Regions from separate parts of the Homo sapiens genome. Here all the other regions are linked to region 2. Evidence: promoter capture Hi-C in 16 types of primary human blood cells and fetal thymus (Javierre and others, 2016). All regions are on one chromosome and are shown on one strand. The core of a region is centred on a gene start or on the middle of the fragment in contact, and the rest is flanking DNA. Distances in the headings are between cores, read along the strand shown. Region 1 overlaps IL4R (interleukin 4 receptor). Region 2 holds the start of KDM8 (lysine demethylase 8). Region 3 overlaps IL21R (interleukin 21 receptor). Region 4 has its middle 15 kb from the start of IL21R.

Region 1 (2,700 bases), core at 15-2,514, 140 kb before region 2:
TAGAACCCAGGAGGCGGAGGTTGCAGTGAGCCAAGATCACGCCACTGTGTTCCACCCTGGGTGACAGAGTGAGACTCTGTCTCAAAACAAACAACAACAAAAACTCCACCAACACTACTGTGAAGGGAATGTCAGGACCAGCTTCCATGGGGAACAACCAACAAACTGATCTTGTTTTCTTGGGAAAGTCTAAGCCTGGGGTGTGGCCTCTGCTCTCTTCATTAAGAGGAATTAGTAAACGAGTCAGCTGTATGGGGACTTCCTCCTTAACCCGTTGGCCTCAAAAGGGAACTGACACGGGTCACTGTCTCTTGAGTCAGTATTATTCTCTTCAATAATAGGGTTATTCAAGTGAGCTGTCAATGTGCCACCTACGATCACTTGTGTCCCCCAAACTGGGAAACACAGATGTGGCCCACAGCCCTACCTTTACAGAGGAGGAGCGGCATGCAGAGATAACTCCCCTTCTCTGATGTGAGGGGTGGGGGGCCAGGAAGCAAAGGGACTTGCCTAGTGCAGAGCCAGGTGAGAAGCCAGGTCTCTAGCTCCTGGGATTTGCTATCCAGCCCCAGGGCTTGCCTCCCAGGCTCCTGGCTCCAGGGACTGGGCCTCTGCTGGTCACCCACCCTGTTCCCCAGAGGTCACAGAAAAACGTCAAAGCATGCCCACTCACATCTGCCGGGTCGTTTTCACTCCAAATGTTGACTGCATAGGTGAGATGATTATACAGGTAATTGTCAGGGGGATACGGGTTGCTCCAGGTCAGCAGCAGAGTGTCGGAGACATTGGTGTGAACTGTCAGGTTTCCTGGGGCCCTGGGTTTCACTGCGGGAGAAGCGGCCTCTATGTGAGGATCTATGCAGTGACTCCCCCATCACCCAGCCCAGCCCCGGCCTACAAACCACAGCCACCACCCAGATTTTTGGTCGACAAAACCTCCATAGCATACTTCTGGAGCACCACACAGATTCAGAGCCATAGCAAAGAAGATTATAATAACAATAATGTTGCTAAAATTCTACATAGAACTTTAGTGTTTATTAATTACCCTTTTTTTCTTCTTTTTTGAGACAGGGTCCCACTCTGTTGCCCAGGCTGGAGTGCAGTGGCACAATCCCAGCTCACTGCAGCCTCAATAGCCCAGGGCTCAAGTGATCTGCCTGCGCTGGGCTCCCAAAGTGCTGGGATTCCAGGCATGAGCCACCGCGCCTGGTCTTTACTAACCACCTTTCTACAGTGAAGGCAAAGTGTATGAGCCAAAGTAACCCAAACTTCAGCCTTTTAAAAAATCTTTTTATTTTTATTTATTTTTATTTTTTTGAGACGTAATCTCACTCTGTCGCCCAGGCTGGAGGGCAGTAGCATGATCTAAGCTCACTGCAACCTCCTTCTCCTGGGTTCAAGCCATTCTCCTACCTCAGCCTCCCAAGTAGCTGGGATTACAGGCGCCTGCCACCATGCCAGACTAATTTTTTGTATTTTTAGTAGAGACGGGGTTTTACCATGTTGTCCAGGCTGGTCTCGAACTCCTGACCTCCGGTGATCCGCTGGGCTCGGCCTCCCAAAGTGCTGGGATTATAGGCATGAACCACCACACCCGGCCTCAAACTTCAGCTTTTACAGCTGCATCCTTCACACCTTTGGCCACATCTCTGTACTTTATGATGATTTACTGAGTATTTTTCTTTATTTTGATTCATCTGTTTTAAAACTTGGTCTCCTTTGAAGCAATCATATCCATGAGACCTCAGGTTTTTATTCCTGTGATGCATGTCATATCATGCATCACTGGAATACAACGCATGTTTTAAACTCCTGTCACCACAGCCCAGCAAGCTCAAGGGGGATTCCTGCAGGGACTCCGGGTACCAGAAGAAGGTCAGCCTTCCACGGTCAAGACCATCCAAAGCCGCAGCAGCTGACCAGTGGACACAGAATGGAAGGAATGTTCCCAGTTCGGTTTTCAATCAGCAGCAGGCATGCCTTCCAGCAAGCACACCTCATCTCAATACGCCTTCCTGGGCACTTAAGTTCAGGGGTGGAAACAGCTGGGCTGAAGGGGGCTTGGTGGTCTACTGCGACCAGCTCCGTTTCAAAGGTGGGAGGACTGAGGCCCAGGCAGGGGCAGGAATCCCATCAGATTTGGGAAAATACAGGCGGCTTCCTCCTGCTGTTGCTATGACCCCACCTCCTCCCCTGCCCACCCCACCCTCAGCCCAGGCAGCTGTGGGAACACACCCAGCCACCCCTGCCGCACTCCGCCCTGCTCACCATGCTCGCTGGGCTTGAAGGAGCCCTTCCACAGCAGCTGCTGCCCAGCCCACAGGTCCAGTGTATAGTTATCCGCACTGACCACGTCATCCATGAGCAGGTGGCACACGCACCCCGCGCCTCCGTTGTTCTCAGGGATACACGTGTGGGCTCTGCAGACACAGGGGCTGGGTTAGGCTGGTCACCTGTAGGCTGGCTGGGCCCCACAGCTGTGTCCGGGACATGCCTCCAGGAACCGCATCAGACTCTTCCAGCTTCCCGATCACGGATGTGAGGACAGATCTGGGGGCTTGGGAGCGGCCAGGGTGTGCTGGGGCAGCCGACTAGGGTTGCCTCTCTTGCTGGCCACAGCCTCTTACCACATGCACCAAGGATGCTCCTCACACCTGCCTAGCTGCCGGCCCTGGTCCTGGGACTTAGCTTGTTCCT
Region 2 (2,700 bases), core at 201-2,700:
TGGCTCACTGCAACCTCCGCTTCCCAGGTTCAAGCAATTCTCCTGCCTCAGCCGCCCAAGCAGCTGTGATTACAGATGTGCACCACCACACTCAGCTAATTTTTTATTTTTAGTAGAGACGGGGTTGCGCCATGTTGGTCAGGCTGGTCTTGTGAACTCCTGACCTGAAGTGATCGGCCTGTCTCGGCCTCCCAAAGGGCTGGGATTACAGGTGTGAGGCACCGCGCCCAGCCTTAAATTATTTTTAAACATCAACTCCTCTAAAGCACCTCCCTGAGTATTCTTTAAGGTGGCTGGGTGGAATGGCCTCTCCGAGAGCCTCACTGTGATTTGCAGAGGGTCTCAGGGTGGGCACTCTGCAAGCACCATGCTGGTCATGAGAAAGCCTCCCAAAAGGGGCTTCCAGGACAGATCAGCCTACACCTAGCTTTCTGGGAACAGGCGGTCCAGTTCTCTAATCTCCTCAATGTTATTATGGCAGTATTCCACAAAAATTGTGCAAAAACAAGAGCTTCGTAAAACTTCCCAGGAAAGTTTGGAACATTTTCCAGAAAGCTTTAATTCATGGCACAGGGATCCCTTTGGCTCTCTAAGGGGCACACAGTCTTGTGTTTGGGTCGTCCGTGTGGCCCCAACGCCTGCGCACCTCCTGTCCCCGGGCTTGCTCCCGAGTCCTCCTGAGCACGGCGATTCCTACCGTTGCCGGGAAACGCACCGATGCCCATCGTTAAGTCCTACCGAGCTACAAGCACCTTTCCTTAGGGCAGTCACACACCCAGGCCCCAGAGGGTCCCCCGTACCCCGCACTGGCCTTGAGCCCCGAGGCCTCAGACCCCCTTCCCTCCTCAGCGCCTTCCCCGGGGCTGCATTTCTCGCGGCTCATATTTGGGACCTGACGGCGGAATCGTTTCCAGCCTGCCTTGCGGCCCAGGGGCAGCGGCTGGTTGCCTAAAAGCAGCGGACACACATATAGCAGAGTATAAAACCCGCGCAGGCGCACTAGGCCTACACCAACGCGACGCCAAGAACCGCTAAAGCGCACAGCAGCCCGCCGTAAGGGCCTGCCCTCACGCATGCGCAAAACCACTGCCAAGAGACGAGCATACGCACGCGCGGAACCTTTCCCTTTATCCTCCCGCAGGGCAGGCCGGCGACGAGCTAAATTGCATTCTCAGAGCGCATGCGGCAACTCGAGCCACCCTCGGGGTTTTCCAAGGCGCACGCGCGAGGCCGGGCTTGGCTGCTTCACATGACGCCTGCGCGGTCTATGCCTCTGAACCCGGCCTCTCCACTTCTGAGGAACTGGAGCTGACTCCGCTCTCGAGTTGCTCAGACTAACCTCTCTTCAGCTGGGACGGTGTCGAGTCGCCTTTGGGCTGGCGAAGACTCGTTGCGTTTGGTCCGACCACTCGGCTGTGTCCCCTGAGGAGCCAGAGGCTAGCATAGGAGTATCGATCGCTCACCGCTCGTCTGATCACGACGCAGTGCCTGGAGGAGCGCCGAGTGATCGATGCCGTGGCCCCGCCCCACTGCTGTTTAAAAGGCCGGGGGATGGAGAAGACAGAAAGGCTTGGCTGTATCCTCTGGGTCCTTCCACGCTAGTGATACCGCTTTTTCCTCTGCACAGATAACAACTTCGTACAAGGCTGTTTGCATCCACCATTTAATCTCTGCAGCTAGGATTATTAGTTCTCCCTATTTTACAGAGAGCGAAACTGAGGCTCAGTGATTAAAGTGGCCACATACTTGTACTTTTGGAAAGTCAGATCCACAATTACCCACGAGCAAGTGCTGCATCCACAGTCTGTTCGAGTGAGAAGGCAAGTGGCCAGGGGACACACTCCTGCCACCTTTGCTTTGATGCCGAGTGGTGCGTGGTCACTGGGACTTTTGTGTTTTGAGCACACACTCCTGTGGACTCCAAGTATGCACGCCTTTTGCAGCATTGCACAGAGGCATGGAAAGTTATGTTCGTACTGAGCTTGGGGTCTGAGTAGGAAACAGGCTTGCTCAGGATCAGTTCATAGATTAGTGGATTCTAGGTACGGTGCTAAAATACTTTAAAAATATGAGGATCGTAGCTATTGTAATGATCATGCTCATCCCCATTTTAGGGAGTGTATTAGTCCGCTTTCATGCTGCTGATAAAGACATACCCGAGACTGGGCAATTTACAAACAAAAAGGTTTAATGGATTCACAGTTCCACATGGCTGGGGAGGCCTCAAAATCATGGTGGAAGGTGAAAGGCACGTTTTACATGGTGGAAGACGAGATAATGAGAACCAAGTGAAAAGGGAAACCGCTTATAAAACCATCAGATCTCATGAGTCATATTCACTACCAGGAGAACAGTATGAGGGGAACCTCCCCTATCATTCAGTTATCTCCTACTGGGCCCTTCCGCAACACGGAATTATGGGAGCTACAATTCAAGATGAGATTTGGGTGGGGACACAGCCAAACCATATCAGGGAGGGAGCAAGTAAAGCACAGAAAGATCTCCTAACCCACCAGGCTCACTGGGATGCTGGTGTTTGAACTCAGCAGCCACAGGTTTAGAATCCTCATGGTTATGTGCTACACTAAGTTTCCACCCTTGAGTAGTGACAATGTTGAATTTTCCCTGAGTCTTGTGTCCCCGGAAAAAAGTAAAAAGGAATTGCTCTCACCCTTTTGTGTTGTGGAAAAAAGTTTACTG
Region 3 (2,700 bases), core at 196-2,695, 200 kb before region 2:
CCCCAGAAACTCCCCCCAGACCCACCTCAGGCAACATCTTCTGCTTCCAGAGTGTGAATAATCATGACTAATGTCATCAGATTAGTAACAAGGAACTTTCAGAGAAGGACAGTGGGCTGCCCAGGGTCACACAGCAAGTTCTCATCTCAGTGGGTTCTCAGGCTGGGGAAGAACTAGCCCAGTGGCCCTGGGTCAGAAAGCAGACTCTGCCATTCACTCACAGTGGGAACTTGGCCGTATCTCTGCCTTTCTTTGAGCCTCAGCTTTCCTCATCTGTGGAATGGGGGCAGCAGGCTTAGCCTGGATGCGGAGTGTGAGGCAGGTTAGTGTGGTTAGTATTAGGTGTGTGGTTAGTGTTAGTTGCTTTTCATCTTTTTTTTTTTCGCCAGTGGCAAGGGGTGGGTTATGGGTGTCTGAAGGCAGGTATGTTGGGGACCTCAGGCTTACAGTTAATCAGTAGAAGACGAAGGTGAGAGGAAGGGCCTTCTCCTCCCCAGCTCGTGCAACCTCTGAGGCTGTGCGACCTCTCAGCCTATCTCTCTCTCCTAGCCAGGCAGCAAATCTCTATTAGCTCCAGCAATCTTTCCCTCCTGGCACTTCTTCCAGCCTGTGCAACCTCTCCTAGCTGTGGAGCATGAGGTCCCAGTCCCAGCACCCGCACCCCCCACTCCCCACCCCCGCTGCCTGTGCAATCTCTATCTCCCTGCAAGCCCTGCCATCCTCTGCAGCCTTGCCCAAACCTTGCAATCTCTCAGCCTCTGCAGCCAGATCTCACTCCAGCTCCATTTCCTCCAGCCCAGGAGGGGCCGCTTGTAGAGCAGTGAAAGGAGGCTTTGAACTATGCCACGAGATGGAGCGGAGCTGGCCACCCACCGTCTCTCTCCCCTCAGTTCCCAGCAGCCCCCATCAGCCCGCCCTGGCCCTGGCCAAAGTGGACTGGTGTTACTGATTCATTCTGGGGAAAGTTGGCAAGCCCTCGTCCTAGTCAAGCCCGCTTGGCAGATGGGGAAAGGAGGCCCAGAGAGGCCCAGGGCCTTGTCCTGTTCACACAGTGGGGGATGGCAGGGGCCTGGGCTAGGACCCGGGCTGGTGCACTTGCCCCAACTCCCCGGGGACAATTCAGGGCAGGGGTCGGGGTGGCCAGATCCTTCCTGTGGGCTGCAGAGATCAGCAGGCTGGGTTCCTGATGCAGATGTCCTGGGCAGTCGGGGGCCCTCCTTGTGGCCCCTGCCCCCCAGCCTGGGGAATATTCTCAGGTCGTTTCAGAAGTTCCAAGTTTACTCAGAGGTCTCATTTGAGCTGTCATGAAAAGTCCCTTTGGCCTGGGGCCAGGGCAGGGAGTGGGGGCGGTGGCACCTGTGAGCCAGGGGTGGGGGTGGGTTCCTCCCATTGCCCCCTCTCCCTCCCCTTCACGTGTCCGGGGGCTCCGGAGGGCAGGGAAGGAGGGCATGTGAGGAAGGGGCTGCGAGGGCAAGAAGACCCTCTTCCTGGAGGAAGCATCTGTTCCCCTCTTTTCACTGCTCCCTTCTAGACGGTTCCCTGAGTGACCCTAGAAAAACCCCCACCCTGCTCTGAACTTCAGTTTCCCCATCTGTAAAAGGGGGGAAGCAGAATCATCATAAGAGCTCTTATTTACTGAGGTCTCATATATGCCAATATGACCAATAATATTTATTATTTTTTTTCTGTATTTTCATAGCTAAAAGCAAAGAGCTCTTACATATTTAAAGTAAAACATAGGCCGGTCACGGTGGCTCATGTCTATAATCCCAGCACTTTGGGAGACTGAGACAGGCAGATCACTTGAGCCCAGGAGTTCAAGACCAGCCTGGCCAACATGGTGAAACCCCGCCTCCACTAAAAATACAAAAATTAGCCAGGTGTGGTGGCAGGTGCCTGTAGTCCCAGCTACTCGGGAGGCTGAGGCAGGAGAATCGCTTGAACCTGGGAGATGAAGGTTGCAGTGAGTTGAGATTGCGCCACCGCACTCCAGCCTGGGCAACAGAGCAAGACTCTGTCTCAAAAAAAAATTAAAAAAAAAAAAAAGTAAAACATGATAGCGGGCACTTCTCATGAGCCATCTGTGCCCAGCTCTTTTGCCTTCCCCATCACACTGGCTCTCTCTGTGTACCCCAGAGCTTCAGGACCTAGGGAGGTGCCTGGGCCATGGTAGATGTTCCATGAAGAATAGGTTGAGTAAATCCTCACCACAGACCTAAGACAGGCATTCTTATTCCTATTTCCACTCTTACAGATGCAGCAACTGAGCTGCAGAAAGGTTAGGTGGCTTCCTCAAGGTCACACAGGTACTAAGCGGTGGACTTGAACCCAGGTCTGGCCAGTTCCACAGCTCAAAGTCACAAGGGGTGGTGTGCTGGGAAGCCAGTTCCAGTTCCCCCATCTAACCGCAGGCACCCCTTCCTAGTTGTGTGGAGAAGGCCCCTGTGCCTGCCTGTGAGGATGCTGAAGGCGCTAGCTTCCCTCTCTGGCTGTGGAAGGAACGGATACCCCGTTCCTTTCATTCATTTATTTATCAGGCACCTGGGTTGTCCTGATGCTACAAAGAGGTGGGTTCCTCCCAGAACTTCTGGTGGCTGGCTTTCTCTTGAATGGGCCTCCTCCTCTGGTATCCACCCCCTACTCTACTGCCCACAAGCCCCTTACTGGCTCTAATCCCCACCTCCCAGTTTCTTCTCCTAG
Region 4 (2,700 bases), core at 166-2,665, 180 kb before region 2:
CTGACTAGGTTGAAATAAATCATGAAGAGAGGGTTGGATGAATAATTTATAAAACATCTGTGAAACAGAATACTCTGTAGCTATGCCATGTGAGGACATAACAAGAAGGTGGCTGTCTGCAAGCTAGAAAGGTTGTTCAGAAGACAACCATCAACCACCTTGACTTAGACTACCAGCCTCCAGAAGTGTGGGAAAATAAACTGTTGCCTAAGCCACACAGTCTATGGTATTTTGCTATGGCAGCCTGAGCTGACTAAAACAGATGTATCTGTATTAGTCAGTGTTCTCCGGAGAAACAGAACTGTAACCAACACAATTATTAATAACAATAATACAAAATTGTTTACAGTTGTAAGGGACTTGCCATCTGCAATAAGCTATCAAAACCACCTTTTATTTTAATTTTGTATTTTTGAGACAGGGTCTCACTCTGTCGCCCAAACTGGAATGCAATGGTGTGATCATGGTGTGATCACTGCAGCTTAAACCTCTCAAACTCAAGCCATTCTCCCTCTTCACTCTCCCGAGTAGCTGGGACCACAGGTGTGCACCACCGCGCCTGGTTAAGTTTTAAAAAGCTTTTTGTAGGAATGAAGTCTCATTATATTGCCAGGGCTGGTCTCAAACTCCTGGGTTCAAGTGGTCCTCCTGCCTCAGCCTCCTAAAGTGTTGGGATTACAAGCGTGAGCTGCTGTGCCCAGCCCCAAACTACCTTTTAATATCCCCATTTTAGACATAAGAAAACAGGTGCAGGAGACTAAGCAACTGGTCCACAGGCACATAGCCAGTAAGTGGCGGGGTCAAGATTTGAACCTGGGCCGTCTAGCCTCAAGGGTTAATAGGCCCATTTCTGGGTGGTGGGAATTTTTATTTTTAATTTTTTATGTTATTCTGTATTATCTGATTTTTAAAATGATATCTTACTTCTGGAATCTGGGAAAAATAACCAAGCTATTTCCATTTTGAAGAGAAAAAAAAAAGGACATCACAAAACATCAGTATGGTGGGAAAAGGGTGCAGAGAAGGGAAGGTATAAAAAAATCTATAGAGATGTGAGCCATGGTCCCCCTGAAGCATGTGACGTCCTTTACTTCAAGCCAGATATTCAATTACATGTATATGAAGATTAGAACCACAGAACCAACATGTCACATGGAAAATGCTTGCGAGATTTTCCCAAAGTCAAGAGTGTGTCACAGCCAAGGGGAACCTGAAGCACCCTAGGGTTGCATTAATAGAGGTATGGTGTCCAGAACAAGGGAGGCTATTCTCACTGCACTGGCCACACCTTCAGTCTACGTCCAGTTCTGGACCTTCATTTTTAAAGAACATTGGCAAATTGATGTATATTCAGAACAGGCAACCGAGAAGGTAGAGCAGCTGGTGTGGAGACAGTAAAAAAAACCATGAGACAGCAGAAGTATTTGGAAAGAGAAGACTCAGGGTGGGGGTCATGAGCAGGTCCAGACCAGCATAGTCAGAGTTGATGAACTGGAGAAGACAGTGAGCTCCCTGTCCCTGGTATGTAAACAACTCCTCACTGTGGGGGTATGGTTGGATTAACTGAGTGTGTGGTTGGACCAAGGGCAATGAAGTCTCCTTTCATGCTGAGTGTCTGTGTGTCTCTGATTCTTAGAAAGACATAGGAGGGCTTACCATGGAGGGAGATAATTATGGACCGAATGTGCTGCTTTCAACCTCTGCCAAATTCATATGCTGAAGGCTTAACCCACAATGTGGCTGTATTTGGAGATGAGGCCGCTAAGGAAGTAATTAAGGTGAAATGAGCTCAGAAGGGTGGGACCCTGATCTGATAATGTTAGTGCCCTTATAAGAAGAGACACCAGGGAGTTTGCCCTCAATCTCCCTCACAGCAAGAAGGCAGCTGTCTGCCAGCCAGGAAGAGAGCCTTCATCAGGCATGGATTCAGCTGCCTTTCTTTTCTGACTGCAGAGCTGGGGAGATGGGAGTTTACCAAAGTTTTCCAGATGCTGCACAGAGAATTCAGGTGGTGCACTGAAAATGTGCCTACCAGAGACTGGCACAAATGCGCGAAGGAATTTCCTTTGCATTCTGATCCCTAATGTTATTCCTGGACCAACTTGTTGATCATGGACTTTCCAGCCTCCAGAACTGTGAGAAATAAACGTCTGTTGTGCAAACCACCCATCCATTGTGTTATAGCATCCTGAGCAGCTAAGACAGAGGGTTACAGCAACCACTGAGCTGATTGGGCACCTCTGCAAGCTTTCTCTTAGGGGACCCTGGGGCTGAGCCCCAGCCTCCAAGTTCAGGGGTGGGGGTGCGGTGGGGTGAGCTGATTACAGTCTTAGGGCAGAGGAGGAATTGCCCATCTTCTCCCTCCCCTGCCACCTCCAAAATTTTCACAGTTAACAAAACAGATCTTCTTTTCACTGTCAAAGGTTTTAAATTCAATGGGAAGGCGGATACACAGGTCTAAAAGCAAAGCACTTGAGTTAGTGGCATGTACTAAGTATAAGAGGTACTGCCGGGCATGGTGGCTCACGCCTGTAATCCCAGCACTTTGGAAGGCCGAGGCCTTAAGCTCTTAAACACTTAAGAGCTAATTCCCTTATGGAATGAGAAGTCTAGAGACAAATGATTGCTTAGGCCGAGACCTAAGATCAGGAATTTGAGACCATCCTGGCCAACATGGTGAAACCCCATCTGTACTAAAAA

What was found. The method cuts DNA at HindIII sites, captures the fragments that hold promoters and counts their contacts. A CHiCAGO score of 5 or more calls a contact.
Region 1: a contact is called between a fragment that was not itself captured here and the fragment with the promoter of KDM8 in region 2, in 5 of 17 cell types (neutrophils, activated CD4 T cells, naive CD4 T cells and 2 more). The highest score is 8.7, in neutrophils.
Region 3: a fragment that was not itself captured here is called in contact with the fragment with the promoter of KDM8 in region 2 in 9 of 17 cell types (fetal thymus, naive CD4 T cells, non-activated CD4 T cells and 6 more); the score reaches 11.9 in fetal thymus.
Region 4: a fragment that was not itself captured here is called in contact with the fragment with the promoter of KDM8 in region 2 in 2 of 17 cell types (monocytes and neutrophils); the score reaches 6.4 in monocytes.

What each region holds. Positions count from the first base shown.
Region 1 is chr16:27,344,592-27,347,291 of GRCh38, reverse strand. It overlaps IL4R (interleukin 4 receptor), which reads right to left. Exons shown (of 11, transcript NM_000418.4): 5 at 2,272-2,423; 6 at 674-825. Among named protein-coding and RNA genes, the nearest start is that of IL4R, 32 kb to the right of the region's middle. The HindIII fragment of the contact is 9,331 bases long and covers 1-2,700 here.
Region 2 is chr16:27,202,276-27,204,975 of GRCh38, reverse strand. KDM8 (lysine demethylase 8) reads right to left here and starts at 1,450. Exons shown (of 8, transcript NM_024773.3): 1 at 1,340-1,450. RefSeq lists an enhancer at 1,246-1,405. The HindIII fragment of the contact is 9,655 bases long and covers 558-2,700 here.
Region 3 is chr16:27,404,372-27,407,071 of GRCh38, reverse strand. All of the region lies in intron 1 of IL21R (interleukin 21 receptor), which reads right to left. Among named protein-coding and RNA genes, the nearest start is that of IL21R, 3.5 kb to the right of the region's middle. RefSeq lists enhancers at 432-1,020, 797-1,246, 1,021-1,609. The HindIII fragment of the contact is 3,807 bases long and covers 1-2,700 here.
Region 4 is chr16:27,385,452-27,388,151 of GRCh38, reverse strand. No RefSeq gene overlaps it. Among named protein-coding and RNA genes, the nearest start is that of IL21R, 15 kb to the left of the region's middle. The HindIII fragment of the contact is 1,669 bases long and covers 581-2,249 here.